Regions from separate parts of the Homo sapiens genome. Here regions 1, 3, 4, 5, 6 and 7 are each linked to region 2. Evidence: promoter capture Hi-C in 16 types of primary human blood cells and fetal thymus (Javierre and others, 2016). All regions are on one chromosome and are shown on one strand. Each heading gives the region's core, a stretch centred on a gene start or on the middle of the fragment in contact. The rest is flanking DNA. Distances are from core to core; before and after follow the strand shown. Region 1 overlaps SYNE1 (spectrin repeat containing nuclear envelope protein 1). Region 2 holds the start of ZBTB2 (zinc finger and BTB domain containing 2). Region 3 overlaps SYNE1 (spectrin repeat containing nuclear envelope protein 1). Region 4 overlaps SYNE1 (spectrin repeat containing nuclear envelope protein 1). Region 5 overlaps SYNE1 (spectrin repeat containing nuclear envelope protein 1). Region 6 holds the start of PLEKHG1 (pleckstrin homology and RhoGEF domain containing G1). Region 7 overlaps PLEKHG1 (pleckstrin homology and RhoGEF domain containing G1).

Region 1 (3,483 bases), core at 607-3,106, 770 kb before region 2:
ATAGATCATTGATCATATGCTTATTATCACCATGACCTTTCTCTTTAGAGCAATCTGTGTACACTCAGCCATGTCAGGCTCTTAACAGGGAGTCAATAATTGATTTTTGCTGTAAGTAGGTAGTAATGGAGTTGAGAAATACTACCTGTGGTTCTTCCCAAACTTCTGATCACACCTTGCTCACACTGGGAAAACTGTGTTCAAAACTAATTTATCTATCTCTGCTCCTGTGCCCTGGACCCCTGCCTCCTCTGCATCCTTGCTCCTTTGTCTGTATTCATCTCTAATTTCTATCCTCCTTTGTCTTCTGTCTTTGGCTTCTTCCACATGAGTTTCTAACTCTGCCTAAAAAGATTGTTAAAGCCCAGTGTTCTCCTCTGCACGCTAGAGAAACATGAGTGGGCCTCTCGCTGAAGTGGGACATTCCCCCTTCTCTGCCCACAGGGTGAAGAAGCTGAAGGAGACCCTGGTAGCCGTGCAGCAGCTTGATAAGAACATGAGCAGCCTGAGGACCTGGCTCGCTCACATCGAGTCAGAGCTGGCCAAGCCAATAGTCTACGATTCCTGTAACTCGGAAGAAATACAGAGAAAGCTTAATGAGCAGCAGGTAAGACTTAAAATGGAAATGGAATTAATAAGCCATGGAATATCTGTCCTCCTGGCCAGGATGATGGGGTGGGCATGAGATGGTGCCTGGAGATGGAAGGTCAGCAGGGAGCTAGGCAGGACTGGTGAGGAAGGGGGCTTTGCCTAGGCAGGCGATTGAGGCCAACAGGTTCCATGTCACTGCAGAGTTCAGCCTTACAAAGATGGTTGTGCCATTGTACAGTTAGTGTCATCCATCCACCAAGAAGCCTTCTAAGATGGTAGGTAAGGTGGAGTTGCAATTACGTATCTAAAACAGTGCTAACAGATTGGTTTATTTATTTGAGAGTCACTAGCCCTAGCCCACTACCATACACTTAGACAGGACTGAAAGGAGCCCCCCTGCCCCCGACTTTTTTTCCTGTGTATAGTGTTTGGGGAAAGATTACAAGGCATACTTAGAATTTTTCAAGTTGAAAAAATTTTGTTTTGCAAAAAGGATTGCATGACCTGCAGATCGCACACAGTAATTCCACTTTCATGTGTGTAGCAAAGACAGAATATCTCACTGGCGGCGTACAACCCAACAAAGCAAAAAGGGATGATCCTGGAAAATGTATACAGAAGAAATTTTCACCTCCCATTCCCTCCCTCATTTATTCTTTCTTTTTTTTTTTTTTTTTCCTGAGACAGAGTCTCACTCTGTTGCCCAGGCTGGAGTGTAGTAGTGCGATCTCAGCTCACTGCAACCTCCACTTCCCAGGTTTAAGCGATTCTCCTGCCTCAGCCTCCCAAGTAGCTGAGATTACAGGCATGCACCACCATGCCTGGCTAATTTTTGTATTGTTAATAGAGACGGAGTTTCGCCATGATGGCCAAGCTGGTCTCAAACTCCTGACCTCAAGTGATCTGCCCACCCTCGGCCTCACAAAGTGCTGGGATTACAGGCGTGAGCCACTGTGCCAGGCCCCCTCATTTATCCTTGCTAAGTATATCGGACTCCAGTTGCCAATAGCAAACACTGTAAATCCCCCGCTAGAGGTATTGTTACTCCATGCATTTAGGTTGCTTTGAATATTCTATCCACACTCTGGTTCTCTCCATTACATTTAGGCCATTGCAGCAAAGTTGCTTAATTTTAAAATGCTATAAAATGTAAATACCTCCTATTTTTAAAATCTTATAGTTTATGTACTTACTTCATTTTACAGACTATTTAAGCCAATGAAATAGGTGTCAAAATACAGTTTTGGGTGTTGAGGTTTTTTTAATATTAAAATTATCATTAAAATTTTTTTCTTTCTAATGAATATATAGTAATTGTACATATGTGTGGGGTACAACGTGGTGCTTCAATGCATATTTTCATAGTGTAATAATCAAACAAACTGAGGTAATTTGATTACCATATCTATCACTTTAAACATTTATCATTTCTTACAATACTCAAAATCTTCTCTTCTAGCTATCTTGAAACATACACTATATTCCATTGCTTTAAAAAAACTGTTAGCAAGACGTTTTTCAATTTTTATGAAATTAAAGTTTTCTGATGGGTGGTGATGTTTGAGATTCTGATGATTGAATTGTAGGGATCCTGGTTGGCATCCGGCTTCCCAGATTCTTCCAGAGAACATGGTAATGATGTCTATAGTGATGAGTTGAAATGCAAATGGCGGGTATCGTAATTTCACAAGTGTATGAAAATCAACAAAATATCTAGTTAAATATGGCAAATTGATCATATGTATTTATAGCCCCACCTACTACTAAAACCCCAATAAAATGATGGTAGAGAGGGAAAAAGGTTAAAACCACAATGGCAAAGAGAACAGGAGAGAAAATGGTAGAGATGACAGACATCCAACATAATTTTGCAAGATAGAAAGTGGATAGATCAGTGATGTTGTTAACAGAATGGAGGGTGGAGAAAGTTGATTCATGCCACAGAGTTCGAAGAAGGCTCAGAAAGTGGAGATCAGGTGAAGCTGAAAGTTGAGTTGCCTATTGAGCTGTAAAATGGAAGATTACTTGAAAATCTGAATAAGGTGTGCTGAGACTGGCAGATTCCTCCTAAGCCCAGCCAGCCAGGGAACTCTGCTTCCTTTACTCAGGTAGAAGATCAGATGATTACTCTCTGGAGAAAGCAAACCAGAGGGACTCTGGGTTTGGGGATCAGGACACCGTGGAGGCTAGAGTCACTATGTTAAAAATGGGGAGATGATGTGACTGGCTCAATACCAAATGCTAGGGCTCCCAGCCCGCTTCCCCAGCTTGGCTCCCACTATGTCAGTACCCAGGCTTACACCCTAGCCAGGAGATTGGAGCATCCTTTCTGGAGAACTGATCAGACAAGCAAAAAGTACCTTCAATTAGTGATACTTAAGGTAACCCAGAAAAGGCCAGACCCCTGCCTAACTCTCCACAGGGAAGCCTCCCAGTTGACATACTTTAGGTGCATACACAGCTTCTATAGCTGACTCATTCTTGAATATGTGTGGGTAGGCAAGAATCCTCACCACTTAAGAAAGCTTCTACCATTAAGAAAAAAAAATAAATAGAGGGAAATAAAGAAAGGAACAATCAGAGGAAACACATTGTAGAGAAAGAAAATGTAAACAAAACAAAACAAACAAACTCACAGAAATGAGAGGTTTTGCATTCATAAAATGATAGGATGCCATTTTTCTTTAAAAAAAGCATTCAGAATGGAGACTATCTTCCACAGAGTAAAACAAAAAGATAAATATATGAAAAATAGGAGAGAAATATAGACATAAACATAATAAAATTAACAATAATGCCAGAGTTTCAAAATCCAATTCAGTTATTTTGTAAAAGTCCCCTGCTAAAAAAAAATAAAGAAAATAGAGAGGAGAAAATTACCATAGTAGTAAT
Region 2 (3,383 bases), core at 154-2,653:
AAAGCGAGTATACACTGAATCTATTATCCATTTGAGAGCCACTGAAGCTACACAGCTGCTTATTTTGTCTTCAAAGAAGGAATTAGTCATCAGTACCTGCAGGTATAACTGGATTTCTAAATCAAACTCAGATTTTTAGGAGGGACACTTCTATGTATTAAATTGTCTTAAGATGGTAAGCTTGCCTTAAATGATTTGTAAACTATGTGCCAGGCATTGTGCTAGTGGTCAGACTGTGTAAACCAAAATGGGTTAGACATCACAACCAAGTTAGCATGCCTTGAAACCAGAGTATCCTAGAAACTGCTGCCTCCACTTCCTTAGGAATAAAGCCATATCCTTTCTAAATCTCAAAAAATCCTAGATGTGTAAAGAAATCATTAAATTCTAGTCCTCAAAGGACTGTATTTCCCCAAAAAAGACACGGATTCTAGAAAAATGGCAACAACCAAAAAGTAAACTTTAAAATGTTAAAAATGACCATCAGGAAATTCTAACTTCCCTGCCATGTTTCCGTGTTTCAGGATCTCCCCGTTAAAAGATTTTCCACACCTCTAAATCTAACAGAATAGCCAACTCTGGAATCCATACCTCAAAGACCAAAACCTAACAGGAGAATAAACTGTTCTCTTAACAAACATGCGTTGCAGACTTTCATTTTTGGGGGGGCCAAAACTTCAAAAACGAAAATCGTTGCTGAAATAACCATGAAATTCAACCCTAACAGAAACATCTTACGCCGCTCAACTCATCTGCAAGGTAAAGGAAGCACCTCTGCCTCTGTGCACGCTACAGGAATCTGTACTTCAGCATGACTTTCAGTTACCATTGGTGACACAAAGATACTGCTGGTTTACAGTATCTCCCCGGTTCTAAAGGCCACTCCATTTCAAGTCTTAAAGATTAAAACAAACACGAAAAGTCAAGGGACAAGGGTAAAGGCCAAGAGATCTCAAGCAGAAGCCGGCAGAAGGATACGAGCAGTGGCTCTCCATCTCTACCCCGAGCATCTCAAGGACTTGTGCTACCTAAACACTTTATGTAAACAAGGGGCTTGTGACTCAGGCCTCCAGCCCCAATAGGTGGAGAGAAGTTTCCTCGCCTCGGCTGCACATGGTCTGCAGAAGTTTGGCTGGAGCAGAGCGCGGAGCCTGGGTGGGAGCGGCAGTGGAGTGCTGCAGGCGGCGGCGGCGGCGGCAGAGCAGCAGGAGGCGGAGGCGGGCGGGGGGAGGGGAGCGGCTGGGGGGGGGGCGGAGGGGGCTCTTGCCGCCACTGCTCTCTCGCCGCCTCTCCCCCCCGGCGGGAGCCGCTCGCAGCCTCTTTGCACTAGTCTCTCCGCTCTCTCGGTCATGTGACCTTAACGTAACCGGACAGGAAAAGCCCCGCCGCCGCCGCCGCCGCCGCGCCGGAGACACCGACCGCGGCGGCAGCAGCAGCAGCAGCAGCGAGAGGCAGAGGCGGCGGCGGCGGGGAGGACAGCACGGCCGAGGCTGCCCAGAGGCGCCTCCTCCACACCCCCCGCCGCAGCAGCACCGGCGACAGGTAAGCGCGCACCGCCTCCGCCTCCCGGGGCCGGTGCCCACGTGCCACCCCCAGCCCAGGGTCCGGGAAGGCGGTGGGGGGGCGGGGGCCACCGGAGCTCGCAAACGGTTCCGGCAGAGGCGGTGGCAACAAAGACGACGAATGACCCTCGTACCAGGGCTACGGGTGCAGGCAGGCGGAAGGCCCGGGCCACTCGGGGACCCGGTTCTGGGAAGCGAGGGCAGGGGCGCCTCGCGGGGGCGGCGGCGGCTGCGCCTGGCGCCGGGGCTCTGGCCGCTTGACAAAACCATCCCCCGGAGCCAGGCGGCGGCGAGTCGGCGGCGCCTCCATCCGGGGTTTTGTGGGAGGGGGAGGGGACGGAAGCCGAGAGGGCGGGCGGCGGATCGGAGGGAGGGTGGGAGGGAGGAAGGGGAGGGGGGCGATTCGCGTTCGGTTCCCCGTGGCCGGTCCCTCCCTTCCCGCCGCCACCGCGAAGTGCGCCCTGGGCGGCGGCGGCCGGTGAGCGTCCCGCGCTGGAGCCCTCAGAGGCGGGCCCGTCAGGTGCGTAATCCTTCCGACGCCTCGCCGCCGCCTCCTGCTGCTGCCGCCGCTGCTGCTTCGGCGGCAAGGCCGCGAGCTGCGGAAGTGGGTTTGGGGGAGGGGAGGGAGGAGGGAGGGGGAGGGGAGGGATCCGGTCCGACCGGAGCAGGCCCGGCCTCTCTGGCGCTTCTCCCAGCTGCAGCGGCTCCTACAGCTGCTGCCGCTACTGCTGCGGCTCCGCCTCCCGCTCGCGGGCGGGGGCGCGCACGCGCGCTTCCGGCCTCCTCGGGTCTCGCGCTGTCTCCGGCTCTCGCGCGCGCTCATCCCTCTCCCTCTCTCCCTGTCTGGGCCACCCCCGCCCCCGGCGCCGGGGCTGTTGCGCCGGCCGGGGCGTTGCGCACGGCGTAGGCGTCGGCATTGTGTTAAACTCCGCGGGACTTGGGGCGAGCGCGCGCGCGCACGCGGGACTGAGGGAAGCGGCGAGCGTGCAACGCGGCCGGAGTGCGTCGCCCCTCCCTCCCCCTCAGCCCCTCGGGGACGGGGACAGGGAGGGGGCGGGGCCGGCGAGACCGGAGGGGGCCAGAGGGCCCCGGCGCCGCGCCCCCGGCCCCGCCCCGGGGCGGGTGGGACGAGGTGGCTGTTGCGGCGCGCTCAGGCGGGCGGGGGACGCGTCGGCCTCTGTGGCGCCGCCCTTGTCGCCTGCTCGCTGAGGCTGCAGGCCGGGCCCCAGTCCCGGGTACGGAGCGTGTTGAGCCGGCGGCCTCCAGCTTCCGCCCGACGCGCCATCTGCGCCTGCGATACAGCCCGGTTTGGCCCCGAGCGCGCTGTGCTTTCGGCTGCTTAGCCTTGGGGCGTGGGACCCGCGCGGCCCTCACGCCCCAACCGGACTCCAAGGCGGGGAGGCTGCTTCCCGGGGCCGGCGTCGTTTTCTCGGTGTAGCGAAACCTCTAAACCCTTCTTGTTTAAACAAAGCCGCAAGAGAGAACTTTTTAGCCAGAAGCTGCAAAGGAAGCTGGGTTTTGCCGCTTTTAGCTGGTAGTAAAAGAGGCAATAAAGAAGCGAGGGTAGCAGAGCAGGCGAGTGCCTGGGCCGGGAGAAGCTGCAGCTACGCCTTTTACTGCAGGAACTTCCACCCGAATACGTGAACTCCTAATTATGCCTTGGGGATATAACCCGGCTCTCGCTCCCCGCCTCCCCCAGCTGCATTGTTCATTAGCTCTTTCATCATACAATGGGTCCACTGAGTTTGTGAGCCTTGATTCTATTCATTTTATCAGGGTATTGTTTTAGTAAAATAAAGCATAAAGAAGGTCAGAATTATC
Region 3 (3,576 bases), core at 868-3,367, 820 kb before region 2:
GCCTCCCTTTCCTCCCTTGTAAAGAGAGAATAGCAGCATGACTTATCTTATGTGATCGTTTTGAGGATAAAATGAGTTCTTACTTGTAAAGCTCTTGTCAGTGCTTGATTCATAGTAAGTGCTCAATAAACGTTAGCTATCACTGTTATAACTTTTGTTAGTTGTGAATAATAAAGGAGGAAATTAGCATGAACAAATTAAACGTAAATGGTAAGAAGTAAGGTCTTTTACTTATCAGCATAATTTTCATCCTTAATCAGTTCTGTCAAGAATTGCCTATGAGTAAATAAATCAAGTAAATAATATAATACTTGTAATATAATTACATATGAGTAAATCAAGTAAATAGTATATGTAATATAATACACGTAATAAAAATCAAGTAAATAATATAATACGTGTAAATAAAGTAAATAATATATTTGTATGTATAAACCATACAAGTAAATAATATATCAAGTAAATAACAGAATACACGTTAAGTAGTCCATAAAGGATAATGAGTAGCTTGAGTAGCAATAGCAGCAGCAGCAGCAGTTTAGACTGAAAAGTAGATTTGGCTTTTCGCTATTCGTACCTAGAGATTGTAAGTAAGTGGCCTAGAAATGCAGAGGCCACTAGACCGAAGACCAGCTACTTCCTGAAATCAGAAATTCACTGCGCACTTTGAAAAAGTTTTGACTTTTTTGACCATGGTGCTAAACCTACTTTTAAATCTTCCTTCTAGGGACAGATGTTAAAATTCAGCAGCATGGCTCCAGATTTAGACCGTCTAAATGAGCTTGGATATAGGTTACCCTTGAATGATAAGGAAATCAAAAGAATGCAGAATCTGAACCGCCATTGGTCTCTGATCTCCTCTCAGACTACAGAAAGATTCAGGTAGAGTAAACAAGAGATGTCTTGGTTGCTCCAGTTGTCTTAGTCTGGTTTGTGCCGCTATGTCAAAATACTACAGAATGCATAATTTATAAAGAACAGAAATGTTGAACAGTCTCACAGTTCTGGAGACTGGGAAGTCCGCAGTCAAGGTGCTAGCAGATTCAGTTGTCTGGTGAGGGCTGCTCTCTGCTTTCAAGAGGGCAGGTTTTGCTGCATCCTCAGGAGGGGAGAGTTGCTGTGTCCTCACACAGTGGAAGGCAGAAGGACAACAGTGCTGAACGCTGTGTGAATCTTCTTTTAAAAGACCCTTAATCCCATTGACAAAGGAGGAGTCCTCATGGCCTAATCACCGTGTAAAGGCTCTGCCTCAGAATACTACCAACATTCACCACGAAGTTTCATCACCTGAATTATGGAAGGGATACATTCACACCATAGCACCAATGTATCAATAGAATATAAGCTCATGACTTGTGTATGTTTATAAATTCTGATCTTTCCCATAACACTGACAAAATTTGAACTAAAAGTGGGAAATTCAAATTGTAAAGTCGTTTCTCATGTTTAGTGTACTAAATAGCACTTTAATCAGAAAACTCTTTTAAGTGAGAATATATTAAAAGTATATACATAATTTTTATCATTTTAAAAGAGGTACATTTTAAACTTCTACATTTTTTCAACTTTCTTTCTTCTTTTTTTTTTTTTTTTTGAGACGGAGTTTCATTCTTGTCACCCAGGCTGGAGTGCAAAGGCACAATCTCGGCTCACTGCAATGTTGGGTTCAAGCAATTCTCCTGTCTCAGCATCCCAAGTAGCTGGGATTACAGTCACACACCACCACACCCGGCTAATTTTTGTATTTTTAGTAGAGATGGGGTTTCACCATGTTGACCAGGCTGGTCTACAACTCCTGACCTCAGGTGATCTGTCCACCTCAGTCTCCCAAAGTGTTGGGATTACAGGCGTGAGCCACTGCAACTGGCCTCTTTCTTCTTTTTTAAAATAATTTTACCACCTGACATGAAAGCTTTGTGGTGGTTCAATTAGAATTGAGCACAGAGATTATTTAATCTAGTTTTATATGCTAGAGAAGTAAGAATAAGCAGTGAAATAACCATTGTTCCTTGCCCTTTGTTCTTTCAGCAAGTTGCAGTCATTTTTGCTACAACATCAGACTTTCTTGGAAAAATGTGAAACATGGATGGAATTCCTAGTTCAGACAGAACAAAAGTTAGCAGTAGAGATTTCAGGAAATTATCAGCACCTTTTGGAACAGCAGAGAGCACACGAGGTAAGTTGTATCAGTAGATTTGGGGGTAATAAGAAATTTTTAGGCCCTTAGAAGATGCTACGAAATGCTGTGTGGGAGAATTAAAATCATGCCCTTTGCACGAGTGTCTAAATGCATGCATCATTTTGCCTTCTTTCTTAAGCTTGAGGTTTTGATAACTTAATTATAAAAATGTAGTCCTATTCGCTGCTCCATGATTGTTTATAAGCACGTGTCAATCTTCAGTTCCTTGTAAAGTATAATGCCAGAATTGTGGTTAAAGGCTACTTACTCGAGACAGGCAAAGTTGGTGGAACGTGTATAGATAGTTAGACAATTTTCAAACTGGGTTAGAGACTACTTTAATATGCCAAGGACAATTGCTTAAGAGACTATGCTTTGATCAAAAGTCTTTAAAAATTTTGTGATCTTCAAAGAGCGTATATGAATTTTATACCAGGAAATCAATCTATCAAATGTCTCCAGGTGTACCTCTTGATTAAATTGCATTATAATTATTTCTTAAGAAACAAAGAGGGAGAAGAACTATATACACAAAGTAAATTAATAAATTTGCCCACTGTTAATCCTTATGTTGCTATTTACCGGTATAACTAAGTCAGTTTGTGTATTTATGAATGATATGCACATGGAGAGATAGGTCTTACCTAAGAGAAAAGAAAAACTTAATTCAGAATTTTTTAAATAGAAAATTTAAAGATATCTAAGGTATTTTTAAATCCAGTTTTGTTGAATTGACAGATGATGAAATAATAGAAAAAAGACTACAATGAGATTGCATCTCACACCCACAAGGATGACTATAATGAAAAAATAACAAATTTTGGTGAGGGTGTAAAGGAATTGGAACCCTAATACATTGCTGATGGGAATGTAAAATGGTGAAGCTGCTTTGGAAAACAGTTAACATAGAGTTACCATATAGAGTTACGTAGAGTAATCATATAACCCAGAAATTCCACTCCTAGGTATATACTCAGGATAAATGAAAATATGTGTCCACACAAAAACTTGTGTAAGTACATTATTTATAGGAGCATTAGTCATAATAGCCAAAAGGTGGAGACAACCCAAATGTCCATCAACTGATAAATGGATAAATAAAATGTGAAATGTCTATATAATAGAATACTATTTGCAATAAAAAGGAATAAGGTACTGATATATGTTGCAACATGTATGAACCTTGGAAACATTATGCCAAGGGAAAGAAACCAGTCACAAAAGACTACATATCGCAAGATTCCATTTACAAGAAATGTCCAGAGTAAGTAATTCATAGAGACATAAAATAGATGAGTGGTTGCTGAAGGCTGGAGGATTGGGAAGAAATGGGGAATGATTGCTAATGAGGATGGACTTTCTTTTTGGGGCAATGAAAATTCTAAAATTGATTGTGG
Region 4 (3,655 bases), core at 428-2,927, 750 kb before region 2:
TCCTGGCCATCCTGATTCCGACCTGTGCGAAACCACAGTTCTGTGTCAAAGAACAGTTCGTCTGCAGCATCAGGGCTTTATGTGGTCTCTGAATACCATGCTGCCCTTGAACTCGTGAACCTGGATGTGCAAAGCCAAGCCCTGTTATTAAGTTACCATTTGAGTAGAACTTGTCTGTTTTTAGGCCCACAAAACTGTTGTAATGACAAACCTGTTCCTTTACACTGAGCACTTAGGGAGATCCTTTTCATTGAGAGCAACAAAATACTTTGGCTCCCAAAAGTCATTAGGCATTTTTCCAAATTCAACTAATAATTTTTGGACCAAGGTTATCCTTGGAGCAGCAGATTTTAGCTAATAGATTACTAACATGCAGTTTTTTTGGTAGTTCTTTTCCTGGGTTCACCGAATGACCTTGGGAATGTTTTTCTCTTCTGTTTTTTAGTGTGCTCATTCTGAAGAAAACAGTTCTAGCAAGAGGGATTTGGGGAAAAGATAGCAAGGCATTGGATATACTACCAGTTCTATCTATGCGGCTATTGGCTATGTATGATAAAGTCTAGCAGAGGGTTATTTGCCCTACTCGAGTTACTGACCAGTTAATTTTCCCTAGAGAACTACCTGCTTTCCTACGCGTACTTAAGGAAGAGAATTTTAAAGCCAGTCTCTTCTCTGCCTCACGTCTTCTTTCATATCCAAAAGACTGGTTAGTACAAGGAAAGAAAAATGAATTTCCCCAAGTCTGGTCACAACTCACATGTTCTACTCTTTGAAATTAGGAAAGAAAACTGTTCTAGCTATATATGTTGATTTTATTATCCTTATAATTACAGAAGAGCGGTCAATTATGAGTTTGTTTCCTGTTCAGTTTGGCCTATTATACCAACTTCTATTATAGTGAAACCACTTTTTAAAAATACCTATGATATAGTTTTATGGTAATCATACTGACATCACTGGGATTACACTTAACCTCAATCAAAAGTAATCAGAATAACAGTCCTACTGGCATTGTGATTTGTTAAAGGATTTATGGTAAGCACAGCAGGAGTATCTTGAAATGATTTGTTCTTTTAATCTTTGAATACTGTATGTGATATTAAAAATGAATTTGGAAGCTTTTCTTTGACTTTAGAATTTAGTCCCTTGATGCCTATTAAACATTGCTTACATTTTTTTTATAAAACAGCTGGCTTTAATATTGCTCTATAATTTTAAGTATTTTAATTATTTAATGCAAGAAAGTTCCCATGAGATTTGTCGTAACATTAACGTTCCCACATTTCAATTTAAGAAAGAGAAAGAGGGAGCAGCTTGCCAAAAATTATATACTGCATTGCCAGCTGAGGGCTCCGAGTTTTAAATTGCAGATTGGTTTAATCTGTTTTGAGTCATGAATCGTAAAGAAACTTGAAGGACTTCTCGTGCAAAATCATGTATGCAAAGTATATCTTTAAGGCATTGTTTTTTGTATATGTGAATGTATCACCTGTTTAAAAGGCATGTTTTTGAACTTTGCTTATTTAATTTTTTTTTTTTAAGAGACAGGGTCTCACACTCTGTCACCCAGGCTTGAGTGCGGTGTCATGGTCTTAGCTCGCTGCATGCAGCTGAATTCCTGGGCTCAAGCAACCTTCTCACCTTAGTGCCCTGAACAGCTGAGACTACAGGTGCTCACCACCACGCCTGGCTCATTTTTAAAATATTTTATAGAGACAGGGTCTTGCTATGTTGCCCAGGCTGGTCTCAAACTCCTAGGCTCAACTGATCCTCCCACCTCGGCCCCCAAAGTGCTGGGATTAGAGGCAGGAGCCACCGTGCCCAGCCTACCTCTGCTTATTTTTTCTTTTTTCTTTTTTTTGAGACTGGGTCTCACTCTGTCGCATAGGCTGGAGTGCAGTAACACAATTATGGTTCACTGTAGCCTCCACCCTCTGAGCTCAGGTGATCCACCTCAGCCTCCCAGGTAGCTGAGACTACAGATGCATGCCACCATGCCCAGCTAAATTTCTTGTATATTTTGTAGAGACAGAGTTTTGCCATGTTCCCCAGCCTGGTCTCAAACTCCTGAGTTCAAACAATCCATCTTCCTCGGCCTCCCAAAGTGCTGGGATCACAGGCCTGAGACACCACACTCGGCCATCTTGGCTTATTTTTAGCAGGGTGGCACAGAGGAGCCAAACACAGACACTTCTCTTGCTGAGAAATTACAAAGAGATTTTCCCCGGAAGCTTTTGCACTCATGAAGATTTGGGTGACAGGGGCCGGTTGTTTATGTCTAAACAGATGAAACTGCTGGGCGAATGCAGTAGCAGTATAGACTCCGTGAAGAGACTGGAGCACAAACTGAAGGAGGAAGAGGAGAGCCTTCCTGGCTTTGTTAACCTGCATAGTACCGAAACCCAAACGGCTGGTGAGTGCGTAGCATCCAGTTCAAGAGTGAATGAAATAGAAGATCCTGAAGCACTTTGTTAACAGCGAAATTCCACTTAGGGGGCTTGGCCTTCTTCTACACCGTTCTATCCTGAGAACTTCCTTCCAAGTTATAACAGTCTCCTTTTTTGTTGTTTGTTTGTTTTTTGAGGCGGAGTGGCGCTCTGTCGCCCAGGCTGGAGTGCAGTGGCGCTATCTCGGCTCACTGCAAGTTCCGCCTCCCAGGTTCATGGCATTCTCCCGCCTCAGCCTCCCGAGTAGCTGGGACTACAGGCGCCCGCCACCACGCCCAGCTAAATTTTTTTGTATTTTTAGTAGAGGTGGGGTTTCACCGTGTTAGCCAGGATGGTCTCCATCTCCTGACCTCGTGATCCACCCGCCTCGGCCTCCCAAAGTGCTGGGATTACAGGCGTGAGCCACCACACCTGGCCAACAGTCTCCTTTGACAGTGAGGGGATGATGCATGCCATCATGGTAGTGTTTGCCCATGTTTCATTTATTATTATTATTTTTAATATTGAGATGAAGTCTCGCTGTGTTGCCCAAACTAGACTCCAACTCCTGGGCTCAAGTAATCCTCCCGCCTCCCCTCGAGTAGCTGGGATTACAGGCGCGCACTACCACCCCAGCTCTCATGTTCCAATTATTTTAATGCACTGTTTCTCACATATCTAATCAGGCATTTTATATGTGTGTGCTCAGAGCCCTATTGTAGACAGGATCCAAGAATTGAACGATCGTTCGTGCTCATGACTGCTTATTACTTCGTAAAGCTCTTTACAGTGTGAATGCCCATGTAACTAACTTTTTTGCTTCATTATTATTAGAAATACAAATAGAAAAAACACAGCCATTGTACCCATGTAACTGTTATTTCCAGATGACAACAACGAAAATGCCCAGTGGAATTACTTTTCTTTCTGTTGCTATTTAAAATTGGCTGCCAACCTATGTTTAAAGCATTTCATAAACATCACATGTAGAGGAAAATAACCTCACTGTTCTATGCATGTCTTGCCAGGTGTGATTGACCGATGGGAGCTTCTCCAGGCCCAGGCATTGAGCAAGGAGTTGAGGATGAAGCAGAACCTCCAGAAGTGGCAGCAGTTTAACTCAGACTTGAACAGCATCTGGGCCTGGCTGGGGGACACGGAGGAGGAGTTGGAACAGCTCCAGCGTCTGGAACTCAGCACTGACATCCAGACCATCGAGCTCCAGATCA
Region 5 (3,696 bases), core at 1,163-3,662, 730 kb before region 2:
AGCTTAGAATTGTAAAATGCAAAATTGCCTTGGGCACCTTAGGTCTCTGGCACCTTCTTTACAGAGAACTAAGATGGAATGAGAAGTGGCAAATGACTGGCCGAAACACTGAAAGAGGGAAAAAAGCCCTCATTTAAAAATGTATTCAAGTTAATCAGATACATTTAAGCAAGGGCAGTGGGGGTTTTTTGCATGTACACTAGGGCCTCACTATAAACACTACTCAGTTTCTTGTAGAATTTGTTTTGAAGTCTTTTCATTATCTGGGGATCTATTTATTCAAAGCATTCAAAGAGCCTCAGCACAGAGCCTCTCCCCTCTAAGGCAGATTGCTCACCCGTGCCCCAAGGAAAGCTGTAGGGTAAGGCTCCGATAGGTTTCTCTGTTGCTATTTGAGGTAGGCCTTCCTGGTGTTTCTAGGGAACAAGACAGGCAGTTTGAGAAATTTATCACATGCTTGAAAGCACTATTAATAAATCAGGTATGTTTTCCCGAGAGAAAAGGCCGAATCCAGCCAACCCCTAAGGGTATGAGTCGGCACACCCTTGGTATCATTATACAGATAATAGTGATAAGCTGCTGACATTCATTTAGTACTTAATGTGTTTCAATTATTTAGTGCTTAATTGTATACATGCTAAGCATTGTATGTGTTTTACCTCATTTAACCCTCACAAGAATCCCATGACATGGCTATATTCCCAATTTATAGACAAGGACACTGGGGATTAGAGGTGTAAAGATGTAGGATTTGAACCCAGGTCTCCCCTGACTCCAGACCCTACCCCGTTAACCGTACCACTCTGCTGAAGGGCCATTGATGGGTAGAAGCCTTTAAACAATGGTTTTAGAGCTGAGGCCACCACAGGCTGCCTCAGGTAGTTTAGGATTAGCAAGAATGTTTGGTTTGGAAAAAAAGAAGACCTGGGTCCTAACTTGATTCTGGAAACTTGTCTCCTGAACCATATATCCAGGAAACACTGGGTTTCAAAGACAAGACACATAAGGGCAGGATCAAGATCACGGACAATCTAGATGTTTCTGCAAAATAAATCTGTTACATACTGCCAGTGTTAGCCGAAAAGTAACAAAATAAATTAGAAGTTTCTTCTCATTTGGCTTTAAATGATGCATGCACGAAATTAACTCATTTTCATTTCCTTGATTATAAACAATTTTCAAAGTGAGTCATACCCTATGTGCATGGCATTCAGACTTCTCACAATTGTGTGTCCTACACACTTTCTTTTGAAGGGTGTGATTTTAGCCACTACTCCCTCCCTGCCATTCTCCTTATCCCGCAATTGTCTAGGTATTTTGGGACAGAGATGAAGCAACTCCTGGGCAGCTATTTACCTGGAAATTTGAAGGAGTGAGGGAAGTGAGAAAAATAAATAAAAATTTACTTGTAGCAAATAAGCACGTTTTTTGCTGGACAGAACTATCTGATATATCTGTATTGATGATGTTCCTTAAGGAGGCTCACACATTTAATTTTTCCTATATAAACACAATCTAAACTGGCATCCATGTATGTAATAAGACCAGAGGAGAATGACCAGTGGGTAGTCAACAAGTTGCCTTTGTTCTTTCCCTTATGAAATTTCCCAAGACTCTAGAAACTTAGGTGATTTTTAGCACAGTAGCTAAATATTAAAAATAACCCTTTCCCTGGGACCATTAGCTTCTTGATACTAAAATCGCTAGAACAAGTTCCCCCTGAAGATGAGGCAGCTTTGGGCATGTTGAAACTCTGGTAATTACCCCAAGGGGACAGGCATTTTCCCAGTGGATAGTTCGGATATTTTCAAGGGCAGCCAGCTGCACGGACAGTCACTGAATATTGTGTGTTCTCTCTGTCCCCATCTCAGCCCATGACTTCTTCCTAGCTTGGCGTTCTTCAGCATTAGAAGTCATGCACAAATTAAATTTTAATAAAAAATGCTCTGATGCTGTTAAATGTGCCATGTCCTTCAACAGACTCCAACATAGGAGTCCACATTCTGTAAATGGTGACATTTTTATCAAAAATGGGCAAGTAAATTAGTCTCTCTGGCCTTCAGTTTTCTCATTTGCAAAGATGAGGGGTGCATTAATATCCTAAAATTATTTTGGCTGTCATGATTTATGATTCAATGGTTTGCCATTTTTCTCAGGAGTGAACAGGTCAATGGGCAGCCCTTGTTTTGATCTTGATCTTTGACCTAATTGCACAAAGAATTTAACAGTTGACAAACAGGAGCTATTCAGCTCTGTCAGATTGTACTATCAATTATATATGTAAATCTTCCCATCACTAAAGTTCTTAAATGTCTCCTAATGAAAATTAGTCAGGTATTTAATAACTAGGAATTGTGGGAGCTCTCTTCAGTCACTCTGTTATAACTCATCTAGCTACAGGTGTTGAGTGTTGGTTGCCAGGGCATATTTTAAAGTCAGGGGAAGGATGTTTTGAAGAAAATTTGATCCAAAGTTTGTGGGTAGCTATCCTATCCTTCTTAAGACACTTTAAGGCAAACCATTGAATCATTGCAAATGAGAAAACTGAAGGCCAGAGAGACTAATTTACTTGCCCATGGTCATGTAACTGCCTCAAAACAAAATGTCCCCACGTCCACACACGGATTTGATGATCTGCAGGATACTGTGAGGCCTTATGACCAGAGGCTTTAGACACGAGGAAACCACTTGTTTCCAAATATTTTAGGATGCAAGTTCAGGATTCTCTTCTTTGCTTCTACATGTGAGATACCTGTGAAATGAATACGACCTGAATTACCATTACCATTATTCCTATCACCAACCAGCAAAACATTTCACAGCAGAGAGTGCGGTGGGCAGGGATTTTGGAAGCCTGAGTCCCTGCTAGGCCTCTTCCTTTAACTGTAGAATCTGAAGCAAGTCATTCAGCCTGTCTAGAGTCTCCAGGTTCTGGTAGTTAAAATCACAGGGTTGAAATCTTCTGCCACTGGCTGTGTGAGCTTGAGCCAGTTATTTCACTTCCCTGAGCTTTCTTTCACATCATCTGTAAAATGAAGTTAATAAGTACACACCGCAGAGGACTGCTGTGGGGATTAAATGACAGAACCCAACATAAATGCTCAGAGTGCTGCCTAGCAATTAGAAGAGTAAACATGAACTGTCCTTAGCTACTCCCCTACAAAATTAGGAGATGAACTGGATGCTCTCTAAGGCCCTGTCTCAACATGAATATTTTATGCTCAGGTAACTCAAGAAGTTTCTATTTTCCTTTTCCATTAATAAGGTATATGACATACTTCTTTTATGTTCTACTATATTTTCACAAAATATACTTTTTTTTTCCCTCAGCTTATTAGGAATAACTCATTGGTCTTAGCACAAGGGCAGTTAATCAGTTTGACCACTAGATGGTGATTGAGCTCTTGTGGCTTCTTGGGAGATTATTTATACTGACAAATCAGTAGAAGACAAAAACATCGAACAGTAAACTTTAAAGTTAGAAGACCATCTATGCTAATTTGAAGAGGTTAGTGAAGAGGTTGACACCTAGAGATGAAGTGAGTTGTTCAAGGTTACATTACCCTGCCGTTACTTGTGTGGATTTCAGAAAAGAACATGCTTCCAATTTAAACCAGTGATTTGATTTTTCCTTACACCACAAGAAGTGTATAGAAACACTGCGTGCTGCCTGTTTCTTGGGGTTTCTGCAGAACC
Region 6 (3,787 bases), core at 1,129-3,628, 790 kb after region 2:
GAAACTCCTCTGCGCGCTGATGTTGCAGCCGCTGGGGCGAGGGGCGGGAGCACCGGGAACTTGGGGGCGCGGAACCCCAAGCGGGGCGGCGGCGGGCAGCATCCCCGACCCGACTCCGACCCCCGAGACGCGGCGCCCCCCAGCGCCCTCCGTCCCCACCGCGCGGTGCCCCCGGCGCCCTCTGTCCCCACCGCTCGGCGCCCCCCAAGGCCCTCCGTCCCCACTGCGGAGGGGCGCGCAGGGGGCCGGCGGGGCCCGGGTACCACGCTCCGCCCGGCCCCACCTGCGGATGTGGGGCTCCCGCCGGAGGTCCCCGGGTCCCCCCTCCCATCCCTGGAAAAGTCCCCAGGGCGTCCGGGCCCGACCGGCGCTTACCCGGGGAGGGACGGCTTCGCATGCCCGGGCGGCGCTCGCAGGTCGGGCGGGGAGGGTGCGGGCTGCGCTGCGCCGGCTCGGGCTGCCGGAGCGCCCTGCAGCCGCCGTCGGGCTCGGGCTCGGGCTCAGGCTCGGGCTCCGACTTCCTCTTCCTCGGGCTCGGCCCCACTGCTCGGCCGCGCCCCGGCCCGCCCCTCCCCGCGCCCAGACGCCAGCTTCGGCGGCCGGAGCAGTGGATCGCTCGTCCCGCCTCCCCTCTGCCCTGAGGGTGAAAAAGGTGGAGAGGAGGGGGGCGAAGAGAAAGAGAAATTAGGCACTTGGCCTTGTCTCTGGAGCCTTGCCAAAGAGAACAGTCAAATTACAGCTTCGGGGGGAATAAAGTTTTTTTTTTTTTTAATTCTGCTACTGTTTTCGCAGACACATCACTTTTTTTCATTTTCCTAGCTCTTCAGGTTTAGCTTTCCTTTGGACGTAATAATTTCCTATGTGAGTCCTTTAAAATAATACCCAAAATCATGGTTTTAGTGAACATTCTAGTTTTACATAGAAGCTTTGCCGGTAATCAAGTGAAAAGAGGGGGAAGCCCGGTGTTCTTCAGGCGTCATTACCCTAATCACCTCGGTTAAAGCACCAAACGACCTTTGCCTAGAGAAAGTAAAAGTGGAAACGGAGGTAAAGAATAACCGGTGACAGCCAGAGAGATGTTTAAAGGCACCGGCTCTGCAGTAAAGTTATGACTCCAATCAAAGGTGCCTGCAGCGACAGTTAAAGGCATGTGAAGTCATTTCTTAACACTAATCTCCCGCCAAAGTCGGACGTATCAGGGTCGCCTGTGGACCCCCTTAGGTTTGGTGGTGGATTTGATTGCACTCTTAGTTGTTAACAGACCTTCAGCCTTACCACTTGCTAGCTGTGTGGCCTTGAGAGAACGCTTTAACCTCTCTGTGTTCTGTCTGTTTCCTCATCTGTAAAATGGAGATGATGATGATGATGATGATGATAGTGCCTACCTCATAGAGTTGCTGTATGTGATTTAAATAAGAGAATGTGCGTGAAGGGCTTAGGAGACTGTCTGGCACATGCTCTACAGCCTGAATAAATGTTAGCTATTCTTGTTGATTTTTGCCTTTTATCTGCTTTTATGCATATACATGATTATGGAAATTATCATAAAGACTGGGAACAAAACAAGGTTTGTGCAGTAAGGCTACACAGCATCACAGTTCTCTACCACGTGGAGTTTATGTTCTGTTTTATAATTTGAGTCTCCACAACTGACTTGTATTACCTAAAACTATGGGACTGGGTTATGCTTGGAATACATTTACCACGGTAGATTTGCAATGGGACTAAAACAGACATTTGCCATCTTCAAAGCATTGTTTCAGTTGGCCTTGCGATAACCTTGTGAGGTTGACAGGACAGGTGCTAGTCGCCTTTCACAGACAGGAAACTGAGCTTAATTAAGACCCTGCCCAGCTTCTGGAGCTCACACAAAATCATGCCTGTTACCCCATCTCTCTATGTTGTGATTTGTGTTAGAAGTGTGCAGTATGTTTGTGAAATAGTACCACATTAATGGTTTCCATCAACCCTGTGAGGTAGGTGCCAGCCTTTATTTGACACTCAAAGCATCTAGGATTCAAAGAAGCTCATTGATGAGTGTGTCTGTGGCTGAGAGATAAGGGTTTCCGACAACTTGGAAAGGAAGGGAGGAGAATTGGGGATTCCTGTTCTCTGCTGTCTCCTCTTTTATTGATTGATTGATTGAGACGGGATCTCGCTCTGTTACCCAGGCTGGAGTGCGGTGGCACCAATCATAGCTCATTGTAGCCTGGAACTCCTGGGCTCAAGAAATCCTCTGGCCTCAGCCTCCTGGGTTGCTGGAACTACAGGTATGCACCACCATGCCGGGCTTACTTACCATTTTTTTTTTGTAGAGACCGGGGTCACGCTATGTTACCCAGGCTGGCCTCGAACTTCTGGCCTCAGGCAATCCTCCAGCCTCTGCCTCCCAAAACACTGGGATTACAGGAGTGAGCCACCATGCCTGGCCTCAGTTATGCATTTCTTAGCACAAGTGCTTCGAATGAAGCTGTGGATGAAGCACTATGATCTGATGAAAAGACTGGATCAGCTGCAGATGCTGCTGCTCAAGAGCACTCACCCTTAGGCAGATAGCTCTTCTGAATTTGGTACTGTGCTTATGGGATGGTTATAATATTTCCTGGCCAGCCCGCTCACTTCACCTCAGTTTATTAATGAGGTGGGAGGTAGAAAGTGGAAACAGGAACAAGAAATTTCTTTTGTTGAGACTGTATGCCAAGTATAGCACTAAGCACCTAAGTCCTGTGATCATTCCTGATTTCCAGGCAAATGAACTCTGCCCTTTAGATCTTTAGAATTTGAGCTCCTTGAAATCACCTGGCCTGACACATTGTGGGTCTGGTTTGTGTGTCCAGCACTTAGTTCAGCTCCTAACACACAATAGGTATACGATATTCAGTGTGTGGATTGTTGGATGGATGAACGGACAACATAAGAGTTGTGAAGATGCTGTAGCATTCTGTTAGTAAGAGTCTACTCTTCCACTTTAAGGAAAAGGACCCAATGGAATGGCTTTCTAATGGTGCATCCAGCATTGGGAAAATTCTTTTGGCGAGTGGTCTTTCTAATACTGCTCTATCAGTCAATGTCAAACAAAGGGAACAGAACCCAGTTCAAGTATTTATAAAAGAGGGACTTTAATGCAGGAAATTGGCTCTACAAGTGATGGAAGAATCAAGAATCCAAAAAGAGACAGTGAGGCAGCCCAGAAATTAACAGCAACAGAAAGTCACTACCACTCCTAGACAGAGGAATTCAGAAGACACAGCCTGAAGGAGTGTTCCCCCACCCATCCCCATAACCCTGTGATTCTGAGTGATTCTCTTCACAAGAAGAGGCTGAGGGCAACAGGCCCAGGCTTAGCCCACCCTCAAATTATACCTTTTCCTTCTCAAGTAAAAGTGGGTCTATCAATTAGATTTCTGTAGAAGAGAAGTTCTTGCTTTTTAAGATGACTGAACGTCCTAAGTGATGGGCTGATGGTGAAACAAACCACCATGGCACACATTTACCTATGTAACAAACCTGTACAACTTTTACTTTAAAAAGATTATTAAATGCCTCTTATGGTGTCTTATTTCTTCCTCGTACAGATTCAGTAAAGTAGATACTATAATCCCTGAATTATGCATAAGGTCACAGCTATTCAGGAAAGTTTGGTGACTTGCTCAAGGCCACACAGCTATGCGAGGCAGAGCAGAATGCAGACAGCTCTGCCTTCCGGTTCTTCTCATCTCACGAACTCAGCTGTTTGTCCTGAAAGGCAGCACAATTGCACAGTTTTGTGCAGTATCATATTTCAGGG
Region 7 (3,759 bases), core at 327-2,826, 770 kb after region 2:
CTCGGAGGAGGAAATGGTATTAGGGAGAAGTAAGGGAATCAGAGCCTCAAATATGAGTTGGATTCAAATGTGCATCTCTTACCTACAGCTCAAGGTTAACTGCAACTCACACAACAGTTCTGGACGCAACACGGTAAGACCAGGTAATGAACTGTAACGTGTTCAAGTCATAAGATGTTACCTTAGCAGAAAACAGACATCGAAGTAAACAGAACAAGATGTGTAGCACAAATGATGACAGATGTACATTTGGACAGCACTCATAACCATATATTCAAATAGGTCACTAATGGTCCGTGTTATTGCTCAATAACATCATCTACACTCATTTAGTATTTCCCAGTTTTCAAATTGCGGGCTTATAGTGTTTAAAGTGATTTGTGCCAGCCAGGCATGGTGGCTCACACCTGTAATCCTAGCACTTTGGGAGGCTAAGGCTGGAGGATCACTTGAGGTCAGGAGTTCAAGACTAGCCTGGCCAACATGGTGAAACCCCGACTCTACTAAAAATAGAAAAATTAGCTGGGTGTGGTGGCATAGGCCTGTAATTCCAGCTACTCGGGAAGCTGAGGCAGGAGAACCGCCTGAACCCAGGAGGTGGAGGTTGCAGTGAGCCGAGATTGTGCCACTGTATTCCAGCCTGGGCAACAGAGTGAGACTCCATCTCAAAAAAAAAAAAAAAAATTGATTTGTGCCACAAAAGCCCCTGAGGTGGTAAAACTAATAGGAACCCATGTGTCAAAAAGGGAAGCTGATATTCAGAGAGGTTGTGACTTTTATTATCTCCTAGCAAAGCAACAGCCCCAGAGTCTGACACTCTGGAACACGGCCTTCTTGCACAAATGCTGGACCCTCACCAACCATCATTCCTGTACATAATTATATCAAGTCCTACTACTTCTACTTGTCAGGCCCCACTCTAAGCACATTGCCAGTATTAATGACTCTTTGCAACAACTCCAGGAGTTTGTGACCATTATTAAATTCATTTTAAAGGTAGAAAACTGAGGCACAGAGAGACTAAAGTCAGGAACTTAGAGATTCAATCCAAGAGAGGCCAAAGGTTTTCCCTTGTTGTCAGAGGCAGGATAAATTGCATTGTTTTATTTCCTTCTTCAGGTTATGAACAACCAAGTTTTATTTGGGTGTTCCTAAGAGAGACTCTCTCCAATCTCAATTCATTCTCTCTCCCATTCTTCATGGCACTGATCATTTCTCATAATATCTGATGTTCCCTTGTTTGTAATGTCTCTTGTAGAGATTGCAAACCCCACGAGGGCAGAGCCTCCGTTCTGTCTCCCTTATATCCCAAATGCATGGTGCAACTGATTGATGCCTGGCACAAAACGGGTATAGAGATATTTGCTGAATGAACACACATATAGACATACAGTCCTCCTAACAGCAGAAATAGACCAATTTTTGAAAATAGGTAAGTCAAGTCAGTAAGATCTGGCAATTTAAAAGACAAGCAAAACAGAACACACAATTGGCTCTGTTTACCCTCCAGTTGGAATAAGTGGGTGTGGAGGGCCCGATGGCCATAGAGGGAGTGACAGTGTTTACATAGAGCCCTTCCCCTCTTGCACAAATACTGAAGGGGTCTGGGGGGACAAAGGACAGGCCAGGTTGCAGCAGCAATCTCTTCCCTGATCAAGACCCACTAGGTCTGGCCTGGGCACAGCCTGGAGTCAGCAGAGCTGAGGTGCTTCTGAGTAGCGGTGTCTTCCTTGGAGAGAAACGCTGTCAGGCCTCCCAGTATTCAGGGCTCCCTGCCCAGGGCCAGTGAAGGACTTTGGGAAATACAGGCTTAGAATTATTTCTAACAATCAAACCGAAATTGTTGTTTTTCTTTCCATTCACCCACACGAAAATCCCCTTTCAGATTAAAAACACAATAAAAGTTATAAAAAATATACACAAGAAAATAAACACAATAAAAATAAACACAAAGACAAAAAACAAAAATATGAAATGTGTAATGATTGTGTGATTGTGACCAAATAAACGATAATACATATACAGAAAATGCAGCATCATAAATGCTGGTGTTAATGAGATAACAAAAACGTGTGGAAACACTCTCCTTAATTCAAAACACACCTTTTAGGAAAAAGACATCAATTTATGCCCTCAAACTATAAGCAGTCAAGCAGTAAATGGGCTGTTGTCTAAAAGACCTGTCATCTCAGCCAAAACTGAGAGCTGGTTTTTACCATGTGCTCCTATGAGAAGTGGAGTAGCGCTATCCTAAGCCCTGGTCCCTGGAGCTGTGAAGAACATAATGTAGAAGGGTGAAAGAAAAAAGAACCTTTTTTCTTTTATGACTGGCTAAAGAAAGCATCCAGAAGCACACATTTTATTTTCTTTACCCCTGTACTTCCTCTCACTCCTGCTCCATAAAAGCTGCCTTATGTCTGCAAAAGCTCCCTGCTCCCAAACTGCCTTCTATGCCCTTCATCATCTGTTCCCTTGGTATGAAGCATCTCAGTGGGTATCAGGAATAAAGCAGTCAACACTCAATTAATTCAGATGAAACTGTGTCAGAAAAACATCTATGACCAGTTGTATGAGTTTCTATTGCCCTCCAAGGCAGCAGGAATTTGGAGTCACTGGTTTCCTGAGCTGGATGATGGACATCAGAAAGACACAAGGATGAAGAATGCTTTAAAAAGACTCTACAAGGCAGAAGAAGGGAGAATGAAAGAATGCAACAGCATTTATGGGGCAGAGGGCAGGGAGGTGCGGAGGTGGGAAAGGCGAACGCAGGCAGGGGTGCTAAAGTGCAAAGGAGACCACTGGAAGGAGAAACTGAGTGCAAAACTCAGATGACCTTTGAACGCCCTCCCCTAAACCCAAACGTCTCTAGCTCAAATGGATCTCTCGTTGAATTTTGAGAAAGGGCCATCATTTGAGTCAAATTGTCCAGGATCTGTTCCCAAAGTAAGTCTGAACTGTTTTTTCTTTTTCTTTTTTTAGAGACAGGATGTTACTCTATTGCCCAGGCTGGAGTGCGTGGTGCAATCACAGCTAACCACAGCCTTGACTTCCCGGGATCAAGCAATCCTCCAGTCTCAGCCTCTGGAGTAGCTGGAACTACAGATACTGCCACCATGCCCAAATAATTTAAAAAAAATTTTCTTTATAGAGACAGGGTCTTGCTATGCTGTCCAAGCTAGTCTCGAATGCCTGGTCTCAAGCTATCCTCCCCATCTTGACTTCCAAAAGTGTTGGGATTTTGAGCATCCAGCCTGTTTTTCCCTTTCCATCATTTCTTCCCTTTTATTTCTGTACCAACTCACAAGAGCCAGCTGTTAAATGTCAGAAATTTTGTAAGCCAGGTGTTGAAGCCATTATTAAAGAGTAAATAATATACATTTAAAATTAAATAAATCCTATTAAAAACAAAGGTATAATGCCCAAAACTCATCACTTCTTAATTATTTCCCTGCATTTTACTATCATCTATGCTCTTAGGGTTATTTACATCTATTGCATCTATGTGGTAGAGATACTAGACAAACGGTGCAATACTGCACATCTCTTCCCCACTCTGAATTTAATGTCACACTGGCAGCTTGATATCAGCCACAGTGGGAATATTTCCACACCATGGATATTGGCAAACATTACGAATCAGGCCTGGAGAACATGTTAATAATACAGATTAAACATAAAGATGTGCTGTGTCTGTAGCCACCATGTTGTATAAATAGCACACACAGAAAAAGCCAAAATATTCATCCAGCATTCAAAAAC

The links. Contacts are between HindIII fragments. The CHiCAGO score rates a contact against its expected background, and 5 or more counts as called.
Region 1: a contact is called between a fragment that was not itself captured here and the fragment with the promoter of ZBTB2 in region 2, in 5 of 17 cell types (non-activated CD4 T cells, total CD4 T cells, naive CD8 T cells and 2 more). The highest score is 17.1, in non-activated CD4 T cells.
Region 3: a contact is called between a fragment that was not itself captured here and the fragment with the promoter of ZBTB2 in region 2, in 3 of 17 cell types (non-activated CD4 T cells, naive CD4 T cells and total CD4 T cells). The highest score is 6.5, in non-activated CD4 T cells.
Region 4: a fragment that was not itself captured here is called in contact with the fragment with the promoter of ZBTB2 in region 2 in 3 of 17 cell types (naive CD4 T cells, total CD4 T cells and activated CD4 T cells); the score reaches 8.5 in naive CD4 T cells.
Region 5: a fragment that was not itself captured here is called in contact with the fragment with the promoter of ZBTB2 in region 2 in 4 of 17 cell types (naive CD4 T cells, total CD4 T cells, naive CD8 T cells and 1 more); the score reaches 8.8 in naive CD4 T cells.
Region 6: a contact is called between a fragment that was not itself captured here and the fragment with the promoter of ZBTB2 in region 2, in 1 of 17 cell types (fetal thymus). The highest score is 8.2, in fetal thymus.
Region 7: a contact is called between a fragment that was not itself captured here and the fragment with the promoter of ZBTB2 in region 2, in 1 of 17 cell types (fetal thymus). The highest score is 7.2, in fetal thymus.

Annotation. Positions count from the first base shown.
Region 1 is chr6:152,161,287-152,164,769 of GRCh38, reverse strand. It overlaps SYNE1 (spectrin repeat containing nuclear envelope protein 1), which reads left to right. Exons shown (of 146, transcript NM_182961.4): 131 at 445-607. Among named protein-coding and RNA genes, the nearest start is that of SYNE1-AS1, 220 kb to the left of the region's middle. The HindIII fragment of the contact is 2,524 bases long and covers 595-3,118 here.
Region 2 is chr6:151,389,579-151,392,961 of GRCh38, reverse strand. ZBTB2 (zinc finger and BTB domain containing 2) reads left to right here and starts at 1,403. Exons shown (of 3, transcript NM_020861.3): 1 at 1,403-1,542. LOC124901232 (translation initiation factor IF-2-like) reads right to left here. Exons shown (of 3, transcript XM_047419613.1): 2 at 2,490-3,008; 3 at 1-2,257. The coding sequence ends at 1,358. RefSeq lists an enhancer at 518-1,390 and silencers at 1,372-1,431, 1,442-1,831, 1,912-2,841. The HindIII fragment of the contact is 3,903 bases long and covers 183-3,383 here.
Region 3 is chr6:152,212,212-152,215,787 of GRCh38, reverse strand. It overlaps SYNE1 (spectrin repeat containing nuclear envelope protein 1), which reads left to right. Exons shown (of 146, transcript NM_182961.4): 122 at 728-882; 123 at 2,029-2,176. Among named protein-coding and RNA genes, the nearest start is that of SYNE1-AS1, 170 kb to the left of the region's middle. The HindIII fragment of the contact is 406 bases long and covers 1,915-2,320 here.
Region 4 is chr6:152,139,961-152,143,615 of GRCh38, reverse strand. SYNE1 (spectrin repeat containing nuclear envelope protein 1) reads left to right here. Exons shown (of 146, transcript NM_182961.4): 139 at 2,287-2,413; 140 at 3,455-3,655. Among named protein-coding and RNA genes, the nearest start is that of SYNE1-AS1, 240 kb to the left of the region's middle. The HindIII fragment of the contact is 1,113 bases long and covers 1,121-2,233 here.
Region 5 is chr6:152,124,322-152,128,017 of GRCh38, reverse strand. All of the region lies in intron 145 of SYNE1 (spectrin repeat containing nuclear envelope protein 1), which reads left to right. It also overlaps a transcript of ESR1 not described here. Among named protein-coding and RNA genes, the nearest start is that of SYNE1-AS1, 250 kb to the left of the region's middle. The HindIII fragment of the contact is 4,815 bases long and covers 5-3,696 here.
Region 6 is chr6:150,596,606-150,600,392 of GRCh38, reverse strand. PLEKHG1 (pleckstrin homology and RhoGEF domain containing G1) reads right to left here and starts at 508. Exons shown (of 17, transcript NM_001029884.3): 1 at 376-508. RefSeq lists silencers at 211-690, 486-780, 961-1,020. The HindIII fragment of the contact is 2,902 bases long and covers 928-3,787 here.
Region 7 is chr6:150,618,301-150,622,059 of GRCh38, reverse strand. All of the region lies in intron 1 of PLEKHG1 (pleckstrin homology and RhoGEF domain containing G1), which reads right to left. Among named protein-coding and RNA genes, the nearest start is that of PLEKHG1, 20 kb to the right of the region's middle. The HindIII fragment of the contact is 5,144 bases long and covers 1-3,759 here.